2 separate regions of the Homo sapiens genome follow, and region 2 is linked to region 1. The links are contacts of gene promoters, found by promoter capture Hi-C in human tissues and cell types (Jung and others, 2019). All regions are on one chromosome and are shown on one strand. The core of a region is centred on a gene start or on the middle of the fragment in contact, and the rest is flanking DNA. Distances in the headings are between cores, read along the strand shown. Region 1 holds the start of IFNL1 (interferon lambda 1). Region 2 overlaps PAK4 (p21 (RAC1) activated kinase 4).

Evidence for each region. The method cuts DNA at HindIII sites, captures the fragments that hold promoters and counts their contacts. A contact is called where the count stands out against the background at its distance.
Region 2: a fragment that was not itself captured here is called in contact with the fragment with the promoter of IFNL1 in region 1 in 1 of the 25 tissues and cell types used here (psoas muscle).

What each region holds. Positions count from the first base shown.
Region 1 is chr19:39,293,388-39,298,513 of GRCh38, forward strand. IFNL1 (interferon lambda 1) reads left to right here and starts at 3,020. Exons shown (of 5, transcript NM_172140.2): 1 at 3,020-3,205; 2 at 3,418-3,495; 3 at 4,577-4,720; 4 at 4,826-4,909; 5 at 5,004-5,126. The coding sequence starts at 3,035. The HindIII fragment of the contact is 11,779 bases long and covers 1,917-5,126 here.
Region 2 is chr19:39,160,945-39,166,070 of GRCh38, forward strand. The region is part of intron 1 of PAK4 (p21 (RAC1) activated kinase 4); the gene reads left to right. Among named protein-coding and RNA genes, the nearest start is that of PAK4-AS1, 27 kb to the left of the region's middle. The HindIII fragment of the contact is 8,833 bases long and covers 1-5,126 here.

The sequences.
Region 1 (5,126 bases), core at 1,770-4,269:
CTACTGGGGGAATCAATCCTGCTACTTCCAGTCCATTCTGCATGTGGGCAGTAGAAAGGCCTTGGTCTCCAGCAGAGAAGCAGAAAGATCCAAGCACGTGAGGCAGGAAACTGTCAGCCTGTGTGGGAACTGACCACCATATCCACAAGCCGAGGGGATACAGTAGAGGGCATCAGCTGGTGTGCTACCGTATATTCCAGAAAGCCGCCCACCCAGAGGACAGGTGTGAGCCTTATGGTAATGGGGAGCTAGAGGCAACCTAAGTGTCCATCACTGGGGGAATAGGTAAGTAAAAGTGCTGTGGTTGTATACACCATGAAATACAGTGCACAGGAAACTTGATGTACACAGCTTGTGAAGAGATCTCAGAAGCAGTGTTAAGTTAAAAAATAAAAAAGAAAGAAGTAGAAGATTTATAGCACAATTCCACTTATGTAAATTGGAAACACATACACACACGAGATCACAAATTATAAAGATACATCTTTGCAGCTATTTATCAAGTGCATTATAGTGGGTGTCTGTGGGGGTGCGATGGGAATGGGAATTGGCAATGGAGGAATAAAAGCCTTGGAGGGTCTTTCATGGGCCAATTGTGATCCTGTGTTATGATCTGAAGAGTATGATTAATAACTTTCTGCACCAAAGGGCTAAGAAAAAAAATAAAGGAGTGAAAATAGGAAATGTCTGCACATCAGAGCAGTTTCTTACCTGCTACACAATTACTATTACTGCAGGGATGATGATAGCAAGGCAACCAGACTCACCGCCTGCCTTCTCTCCAGGCAGCCCCTCCAGTCCCCAGGAAATGCGCTTGCCCCCAGCGAATAAGGAGTTCCCTACCCCTCTCATGCTACCCAGAGGGACAGAAAGGAGAAGTGGGCCTGCTACCCCCAGAGGTTCTCATCTTCTACCTGGGCTGCATATGGAATAGGGAGCAAGTACATAGGACTCATCATACCCCATTTCTGCCTCTATCCCACTGTGGGACCTTAGGCAAGTCACTTTGCCTTCCTATGCCTCAGTTATCTCACTAGTAAAATGGGCATGATTATTGTATTAGTCAGGGTTCTCCAGAGAGACAGAACAAATAGGATGTTTGGATAAATAGATGATAGATAGAGAGATATAGACTAGATAGATGAGAGAGATAGACTAGATAGAGAGAGAGAGAGAGAGAGAGAGAGAGAGAGACTAGATAGATGAGAGAGAGATAGGAGGGGATTTATTAGGGGAATTGGCTCAGACAATTAGGGAGGCTAAGAAGTTCCACAACAGGCCATCTGCAAGCTGGAGAACCAGGGAAGCTTGTAGTGCAGCTCAGTTCCAGAATAAAAGCCTCAGGACTTAGGGGGTAGCTAGTGCAAGTCCCAGCATTTTTTTTTTTTCTGAGATGGAGTCTCACTCTGTTGACCAGGCTGGAGTGCAGTGACATGATCTCAGCTCACTGCAGCCTCCGCCTCCAGGGTTCAAGCGATACTCCTGCCTCAGCCTCCCAAGTAGCTGGGACTACAGGCCTGTGCCACCACGCCTGGCTGATTTTTATATTTTTAGTAGAGATGGGGTTTCACCATGTTGGCCAGGCTGGTCTCGAACTCCTGACCTCAAGTGATTCACCTGCCTCAGCCTCCCAAACTGCTGGGATTACAGGCGTGAGCCACCATGCCCAGCTGCACATCCCAGCATTCAAAGACCAAAGAGCCTGGAGTTCTGATGTTTAAGGGCAGGTGCAGGGTGTCCCAGCTCATAAGAGAGAGCAAATTCTCCTTTCCTCTGCCTTTTTGTTCTATTCAGGCCCTCGGCCAATTGGATGGTGCCCACCACATTGGGTAACAACGGGTCTTCCTTACTCAGTCCATTGATTCAAATGCCAATCTCTTCTGGAAACACCCCAGAGTCATACCCAGAATTAACGCATCACCAGCTATCTGATAAACTTAACCAGTCAAGGTGACACCTAAAATTAACCATCACAATTATAAAAATAACTACTCAGAGAAACATTAGGAGCATGAACTGAAATTAGTTAATGGGACATTCTTAAACCAATGGCAGAAGCTCCTTCTTGGCCAGGAGCAGTGGCTCATGCCTTTAATACTAGCACTTTGCGAGGCTGAAGCAGGAGGATGGCTTAAGGCCAGGAGTTCAAGACTGGCCTGGGCAACATAGTGAGACCCCTATCTCTACAAAAATAAATAAATAAATAATAAAGTAAGGTGGTGGCTCACGCCTGTAATCCCAGCACTTTGGGAGGCCAAGGCAGGCAGATCATCTGAAGTCAGGAGTTCGAAGCCAGCGTGACCAACATAGTAAAACCCAGTCTCTACTAAAAATACAAAAACTAGCCAGGCGTGATGGCATGCACCTGTAATCCCAACTACTTAGGAGGCTGAGGCAGGAGAATCGCTTCAACTCGGGAGGCAGAAGTTGCAGTGAGCCAAGATTGCACCATTGCACTCCAGCCTGGGCAACAAGAGCAAAACTACGTCTCAAAAAATAATAATAACAATAAAATAAAAAACAAGCTTTTTTTTTTTTGAAACAGGATCTCACTCCATCACCCAGGCTGGAGTGCAGTGGCACGATCTTGGCTCACTGCAACCTCCGCCTCCCGGGTTCAAGTGATTCTCATGCCTCGGCCTCCTGAGTAGCTGAGACCACAGGCGCATGCCACCACACCTGGCTAATTTAGAATAAAAAAGAAGCTTCCTCTCTGCCACTCAGGTAGCCTTATCCCTAATCTCAGCCTCCGTCAGGGACTCCCTGAGGCCAGTTGGCTGAAAGCTGCCCAGGGAGTTCTAAGGATTTCAGTTTCTCTTTCCTTCTTGATGCAGCTCCCAGCTCACTTGGCCCTGCCCACACCTGTTCCCTCATCAGGCTCCCAGACGGGCCCCGCCCACTCATGCCTCTTAAGTCAAAGTGGAAATTCTCATTTCCAATTACCTTTTCACTTTACACACATCATCTTGGATTGCCCATTTTGCGTGGCTAAAAAGCAGAGCCATGCCGCTGGGGAAGCAGTTGCGATTTAGCCATGGCTGCAGCTTGGACCGTGGTGCTGGTGACTTTGGTGCTAGGCTTGGCCGTGGCAGGCCCTGTCCCCACTTCCAAGCCCACCACAACTGGGAAGGGCTGCCACATTGGCAGGTTCAAATCTCTGTCACCACAGGAGCTAGCGAGCTTCAAGAAGGCCAGGGACGCCTTGGTGAGTTCCTGTTGCTGTGGATGAACCACTTCTACGGGTGTCCCAATTACTGCCCTTCTACTGTGGGCTAGCCTCTAGCCTTCCAACTATGGCAAACCTCTATCCTTTCTGCACTGGGTTAAACCCATGCTGTCAGGCCAACTTCATCCTTGCTGCTATGAGCTAGCTTCCAGCCATCCTGCTGTGGGCTAACCCCTGCCCTTGCTCTCTAGGAAGAGTCACTCAAGCTGAAAAACTGGAGTTGCAGCTCTCCTGTCTTCCCCGGGAATTGGGACCTGAGGCTTCTCCAGGTGAGCTGAAAGTCAGGCCCCCTTCACCCTTCCCTTGACCCTCTCCCCCCTCTTCTTAAGTGGCCCCTTAGCCTTCTTTGTTTCCCTTGTCCTTCACTCTCTTGGACCTCTCCTCACCTGTCCTGTGCCCCTGCCACTTCAAAACTGCTCTCTTGACTCTGTCCTTCCCCTGGGTCCCTTTTATCATCTCCCATCGGCCCCACTTCCCTAGCTCGCTCACCTGTCCCTGTCACTTCCACTCTCACTCTTCATTTCTCTCCCAAATGTCTCCAGTCTGTCGCCCACCTGTGCCTTTCGTCCTGCTCCACTTCTCCCTGTCTGTTCCCAACACTGACCCCCTCTCCCTCTCACCTGCCTCTGTCACCTGTCCCTCATTATCTCTCACTGACATTCATCCAGCTCATGCTCCCCCCTCATCCACCCTTCTCTTTTTTTTTTTTTTTTTTTTTTTTTTGAGACAGAGTCTTGCTCTATGGCCCAGGCTGGAGTGCAGTGGCATGATCTCGGTTCACTGCAACCTCTGCCTCCCGGGTTCAAGCAATTATCCTGCCTCAGCCTCCCGAGTAGCTGGGATTACAGGCATGTGCCATGATGCCCAGCTAATTTTTGTATTTTTAGCAGAGACGGGGTTTCACTATGTTGGCCAGGCTTGGTCTCGAAATCCTGACCTCAGGTGATCCACCCGCCTCGGCCTCCCAAAGTGCTGGGATTACAGGCGTGAGCCACCACACCCAGCCCTACCCTTCTTCTCTGTGCATGCAACTGTCCCTCTCTTACTGTGCCCCCAACCTGCTTTCTCCTCACCCGTCCCCACCCCGCCCCAGAGAACTTCTGTGACCCCCGTAAGTCCCCTTTCATTTGTCTCCATTTCACTTATCCCCTCACCTGCCTCCTTGACCATCCTGCCTCACCTGTATCCTTCCTCATGTCTTCCCCCTCCTGTCTCCTTCTCCCCAGACCCCTCACCTGTCCCCACCACATGCACTGTGTCACCGACCTTCCCCAGGACTGCCTACCTGTCCCCACTAACTGGGTCTTCTTGCCTGTTCTCCCTCACCTGCTCTTTCTCACCTCTCCTCAGGTGAGGGAGCGCCCTGTGGCCTTGGAGGCTGAGCTGGCCCTGACGCTGAAGGTCCTGGAGGCCGCTGCTGGCCCAGCCCTGGAGGACGTCCTAGACCAGCCCCTTCACACCCTGCACCACATCCTCTCCCAGCTCCAGGCCTGTGTGAGTCCTTGGGGCCCGGGCACCCAGGTCTGTGGGCTCTGAGCAGCATCCTTCCCCTGTGGTGGCCCAGGCTCCGCCTCACACACCGCCCTCTTCTGCCCACAGATCCAGCCTCAGCCCACAGCAGGGCCCAGGCCCCGGGGCCGCCTCCACCACTGGCTGCACCGGCTCCAGGAGGCCCCCAAAAAGGTGAGTGACCCAGGAAGAGAAGGACCAGGGTCTGGGGAGCCAATAGGAGCCCAGACCCTGGACAGCCCCTGACCCATCCCCTCCTCCCCTACAGGAGTCCGCTGGCTGCCTGGAGGCATCTGTCACCTTCAACCTCTTCCGCCTCCTCACGCGAGACCTCAAATATGTGGCCGATGGGAACCTGTGTCTGAGAACGTCAACCCACCCTGAGTCCACC
Region 2 (5,126 bases), core at 1,835-4,334, 130 kb before region 1:
GGATGTTGACTTGCCTTCTCTGTGGGACAGAGTGGCTGCTTTTGTGACCTGGCACTGGATAGCCCTGGGCAGTGAGTTCCCCTCTCGGCCTCAGTTTCCTGGTTTGGGGAACAGGAAGGAAGAGGACTCCCCACCCAGCACCCAGCACTGTTTAGAGGGCTCCGCGTGGCCTGGTCTGTGTGCCTGGCACAGCCTGGGCAAGTCCACAGCCACGAAGGGGAGCCCTTGTGAGTCCACGCCCTGCTGTAGGCACTGAAATGCAGCCATCATGAACCAAAACGCGGTCCCTGTCCATATGAGTCACTGACTTAGCGAGGAAGATGGCCACAGACAGGCAAACAACTGTAATGTGTGAGGCAACGCTGAGGGCCCTGGAGGGAACGGACCTAGGCTGACTGCGCCAGGCTCCGCGCCAGGTGCTGGGGGTGCCACATGGAGCAAGACCAGGCCAAGCCCCTGCCTATGAGCTCACGCTGCAGCCCTCGGCCAGTCCTGCCACCTCCACCTTTACAGTGTGCCCAGAACCTGCTCATGCCGCCCCCTCTGCAGCCCCCACAAGGTCCTGCCCCCTTGATTTCCACTGGGCCATCACAGCCTCCTCCTCCCTGGTCCCCCTTTCCGTTCTGCCCCCACAGACTGTTCCCAGCCAGTGGGAGCCTGTGAACTCCTGAGTCAGGCGGTGGCCCTCCTGGGCTCAGAGACCCCTGCAACTCCGTCTCACTCGGGAAAGGACCAGGCCCTCCCGGTGGCCCCCAAAGCCCCACACGATCTGCCCCATTACCTCCTTGGCCTGTCCTTCCACTTGCCCCCTCGCCCACCCTGCTCCAGCCACGTGGCCTCCTCGCTGTCCCTTGACCATATCAAGCAAATTCCTACCGCCCTGGCTGTTCCTTCCTCCTGGGCTGCCCTTCCTCCAGAGCCCTACATGGCTCCCTCTCCCCTCCTCACGCAGGTCCCTGCTCACGTGTCCCCTTCTCAGCAAGGCCTGCCTGACCACTTTATTTTATAATAATAGTTATTATTATTATTTTGAGATGGAGTCTCACACTCTGTCGCCCAGGCTGGAGTGCAATGGTGCGATCTTGGCTCGCTGCAACTTCCACCTCCCAGGTTCAAGCGATTCTCCTGCCTCAGCCTCCCAAGTAGCTGGGACTACAGGCGCCTGCCACCACGCCAGGCTAATTTTTTGTATTTTTAGTGGAGATGGGATTTCACCATGTTGGCCAGGCTGGTCTCCAACTTCTGACCTCAAGTGATCTGCCTGCCTTGGCCTCCAAAAGTTCTGGGATTACAGGCATAAGCCACTGCACCCAGCCTGTTATTCTTATTTTTGAGACAAGGTCTCACCCTGTCACCTAGGCTGGAGTGCAGTGGCACGATCACTCACTGCAGCCTCGACCTCCCAGGCTCGGGTGATTCTCCCGCCTCAGCCTCCTCAGTAGCTGGGACCACAGGCGCACACCACCACACCTGGCTAAATTTTTATTTATTTTTTATTTTTGGGGTAGAGACAGGGTCTCACTAGGTTGCCCAAGCTGATCTTGAACTCCTGGGCTCAAGCGATCCTCCCTCCTTGGCCTCCCAAAGTGCTGGGATTACAGGCGTGAACCACCGTGCCCGGCCTTGACCACTTTATTGAGAATTCCAGCCTCCCCTCCCCTCAGCTCCTTTCTGATTGCTGCGTTATTTTCTATGTCAGCATTTCTCACCCGACTTAGTAGATGTTTTTCTGATTTATCTCATACATTGACTGCCTCCTTCCTTCTAGAATGTGAGTGCTGCGAGGACAGGGATGTTTCTGACTGTTGGGTGCACTGCTATGGGCCCCAGGCCCAGCAGAGTCAGCCCTTGGTAGACATGGACGGGTGCGTGGGTCGATGCGTGGGTGGGTGTGATCGGGTCACTTGTGGGTGGAGTAGGTGTTTGCTAAGGCAGACTCTGGGGATGTGTCGGTCCCAAACCTGAGGACTCCTTGGAGGAACGAGGCTCAGTGTGGGAGGCCTGAAGAGAGATGTGGTTAGAGGAGGGTTGGGGGCCGTGCAGGATGGGGGCAAGAGCTAAGCCAAGGTTTGGAGGCAGGAATGGCTTGGGGGACTCAGGACAGCGAGGAGCCTGCTGTGCCGGGACGGGAAGCCAAACTCCCAGCGCCTCCACCATCAAAGCACATGCCAGAAGGTAGGAGGTAAACTGAGGCAGGGAGGGGCCCTCCCAGAGCTGGTAGGTGAAGATTGTGGCAGGGTGGTGAGTGGGACCCAATGGTGGAAGGCTGAGTGCAGGCTGGAGGCAGTGAGCGGTCTGGGTCCCCTTCCTGATTCGAGTTTCATTTTGGTAACGATGAAAGGATGCCTGTGGTCCTGGCCACCTCCCCTGCTCTGCCCCTGGGCCCCTGTGTTCTGGGTGGGCCAGCCCCCTCCCTTCCAGGGGCAGCAGCTTTGATCAGAGCCTGGAGGGGGCGGGGCAGGAGGTAAGGGTTTTTGCACGCTCACGTCTGCTGACACTGACAGCTTTGTCGCACGGTGGATCTTGCTTTTCCATTTGGGCCAGTTAACCTTGTGGGGGAGAATGGGGGTGGTGGGACCCTTTTCCTCCCAGAAAAGGTCAGAGGATGCAGGGGGTGACTGGAAAATCTGAAGTGTCTGCTAGGCCAGGTCAACGCTGCCTGTCCCGCATGTTAAAGAATTCAAAAGATTTTTTAAAATTTGAAATAAACATTTTAGAGTAGGATACAAAATGCGCTTGCATTTCTGGGATCAAATACTGGACTTCAGAGGCATCTGTGCCCCGGCTGGGGCAGAAGGCTGCACCTTCCTGCTGCTCTGGGACTACTGCCCCCAGGTCCCAGCTGCTTATCTGAAAGATTTCCCGGGTGCTGCTGGGCCTTGTCCAAGGCCTCTGAGCAGGGGAATAATGCAGCGGACAGGGACGATCATTCCACGGAGTCCCTACTGTGTGCTGCCCTGGGCTACGAGGGGGTAAGACAGAGGACAGTCCCTGCCCTGTGAAGCTGACACATTCTAAGGGAGAGGCAGATGCTAAAGAATTACACATATGGCTGGGCCCGGTGGCTCACGCCTGTAATCCCAACACTTTGGGAGGCTGAGGCAGGTGGATCACCTGAGGTGAGGAGTTCAAGACCAGCCTGGCCAACATGGTAAAACCCCATCTCTACTAAGAATACATAAATTAGCCGGGTATGGTGGCGGACGCCTGTAATCCCAGCTTCTTGGGAGGCTGAGGCAGGAGAAGCACATGAACCCACTAGGCGGAGGTTGCAGTGAGCCAAGATCATGCCATTGCACTCCAGCCTGGGCAACAAGAGTGAAACTCTGTCTCAAAAAAAAAAAAAAAAAAAAAGAATTATACACACACACACAAGCACGCCATATATGTGGTAAGAGCCCTGAGGAAAGATAAAGCAGAGACAGGTGTAGAGGGCGACAGGACAGGAGCAGGGCTTGTGAGCACAGGCGGGCCTGGGAAGTCAGGGAAGGTGGGAGATCAGTGAGAGGAGAGTTCCAGGTGGGGCACTCGCCCATGCAAAGGCCCTGAGGTGGAACCATGTCTAGGATTTGAGGAACAGCAGGGGGACCTGTGTGGCCAGGGCACAGTGAGTACAGGGGTGCTTGGGAGAAGAGGAGGGCAGCATGGTGATGGGCGCATCCTGTGGGGACTCTCAGGCCACGAGGAGGCATTTTGGGGGCCAGCAAAGGGTTTAAGGCTGTGAACTCTGGAGTGGGCAGGACTCTGGAATGGGCAGGACTCTGGCTTCCAGGCCCAGCTCTGCTCGGTGAGCTTAGTGAGAGATTTTACCTTTGTGAGTCTCTGTTTCCACAGCTGCAAAATGGGGCTCAGAATGGCCACTCCACCGTGGTTGAGGGCGCCTGCGAGCTCAGCGTCAGCGTCTGCTCTGGGCCATGGGTCCCTTGTGGTGGTGGCGATGGTGGTGGGAGTACCGAGCTGAGCCTCAGGCCACATTTGGTGGGAGGGGTTGGTTTTAAGCATCTTTCCTGCTGCACAGGCCCATGGGAAAGGCTGGTGTACAGCCATTGGGGAGGTGGGGGCCCCGGGGCCCACTTTGTGCTTCCTCCCACTACCCGTGGGGTCCAGGACAGGTCACACAGGAGGGAGGGACCCTCACTCAGCAGAGACTAGGCAGGAGAGGAAAGGCAAGGTCTGGGTGTAGACAGAAAGAATGGGAACGGAGGGAGAGGGGAGGCCAGGACCAGCCTTGAGAGGATGATGATGATGATGATAATAATAATAATAATAATAATAAGGCCGGGCGCGGTGGCTCACGCCTGTAATCCCAGCATTTTGGAAGGCCGAGGCAGGTGGATCATGAGGTCAGGAGATCGAGACCATCCTGCCTAACACAGTGAAACCCCATCTCTACTAAAAATACAAAAAAAAAAAAAAAAAAATTAGCCGGGCATGGTGGTGGGCACCTATAGTCCCAGCTACTGGGGAGGCTGAGGCAGGAGAATGGCGCAAACCCGGGAGGCGGAGGTTGCAGTGAGCTGAGATTGCACCACTGCACTCCAGCCTGGGCGACAGAGCAAGACTCCCTCTCAAAATAAATAAATAAATAAATAAATAAATAAATAAATAAAATAATAATAGACAAAACCAACAGTGTCACCTCAGCCCTCCAGGGCAGCAGGACAGGCAGGTAAGAGCCCAGCCTTCAGTGCCTTCCATACACAACCGCCCAGGTTCAAATCCTGGCTGCTTCTCATGTCTGCCTCTCACTGGCTGCTTCTCCTGTCCATGCCCTGGACAAGGGCCTTCCCTTCTCTGGGCCTCAGTTTTCCCATTCATGAATTGGGATGAGGATGCTTGTGAGGATGGAACGGGATTAGACGCACAGCAGGGCCGGAACCCGCGAATCTCTGCAGACAGGCCTGGAGTCTGGTGTCCACTCTGCCACCCTAGCTGGGCCACCTGGGTTAATGAGGTCCCCCTCTGTGCCTTGTTTTCCCTGTCTGTAATCCGGGGCTTATTAATGGCCCCTCCCTCCAGGATCATATGTGGGACTCCGGGTAAAGTGCCTGGAAGAGGGCTGGTATACAGTAGGTACTCAGTAAGTGCTGGCTGCTATTGGAATGGTGACCGGCACTTACTGAGCA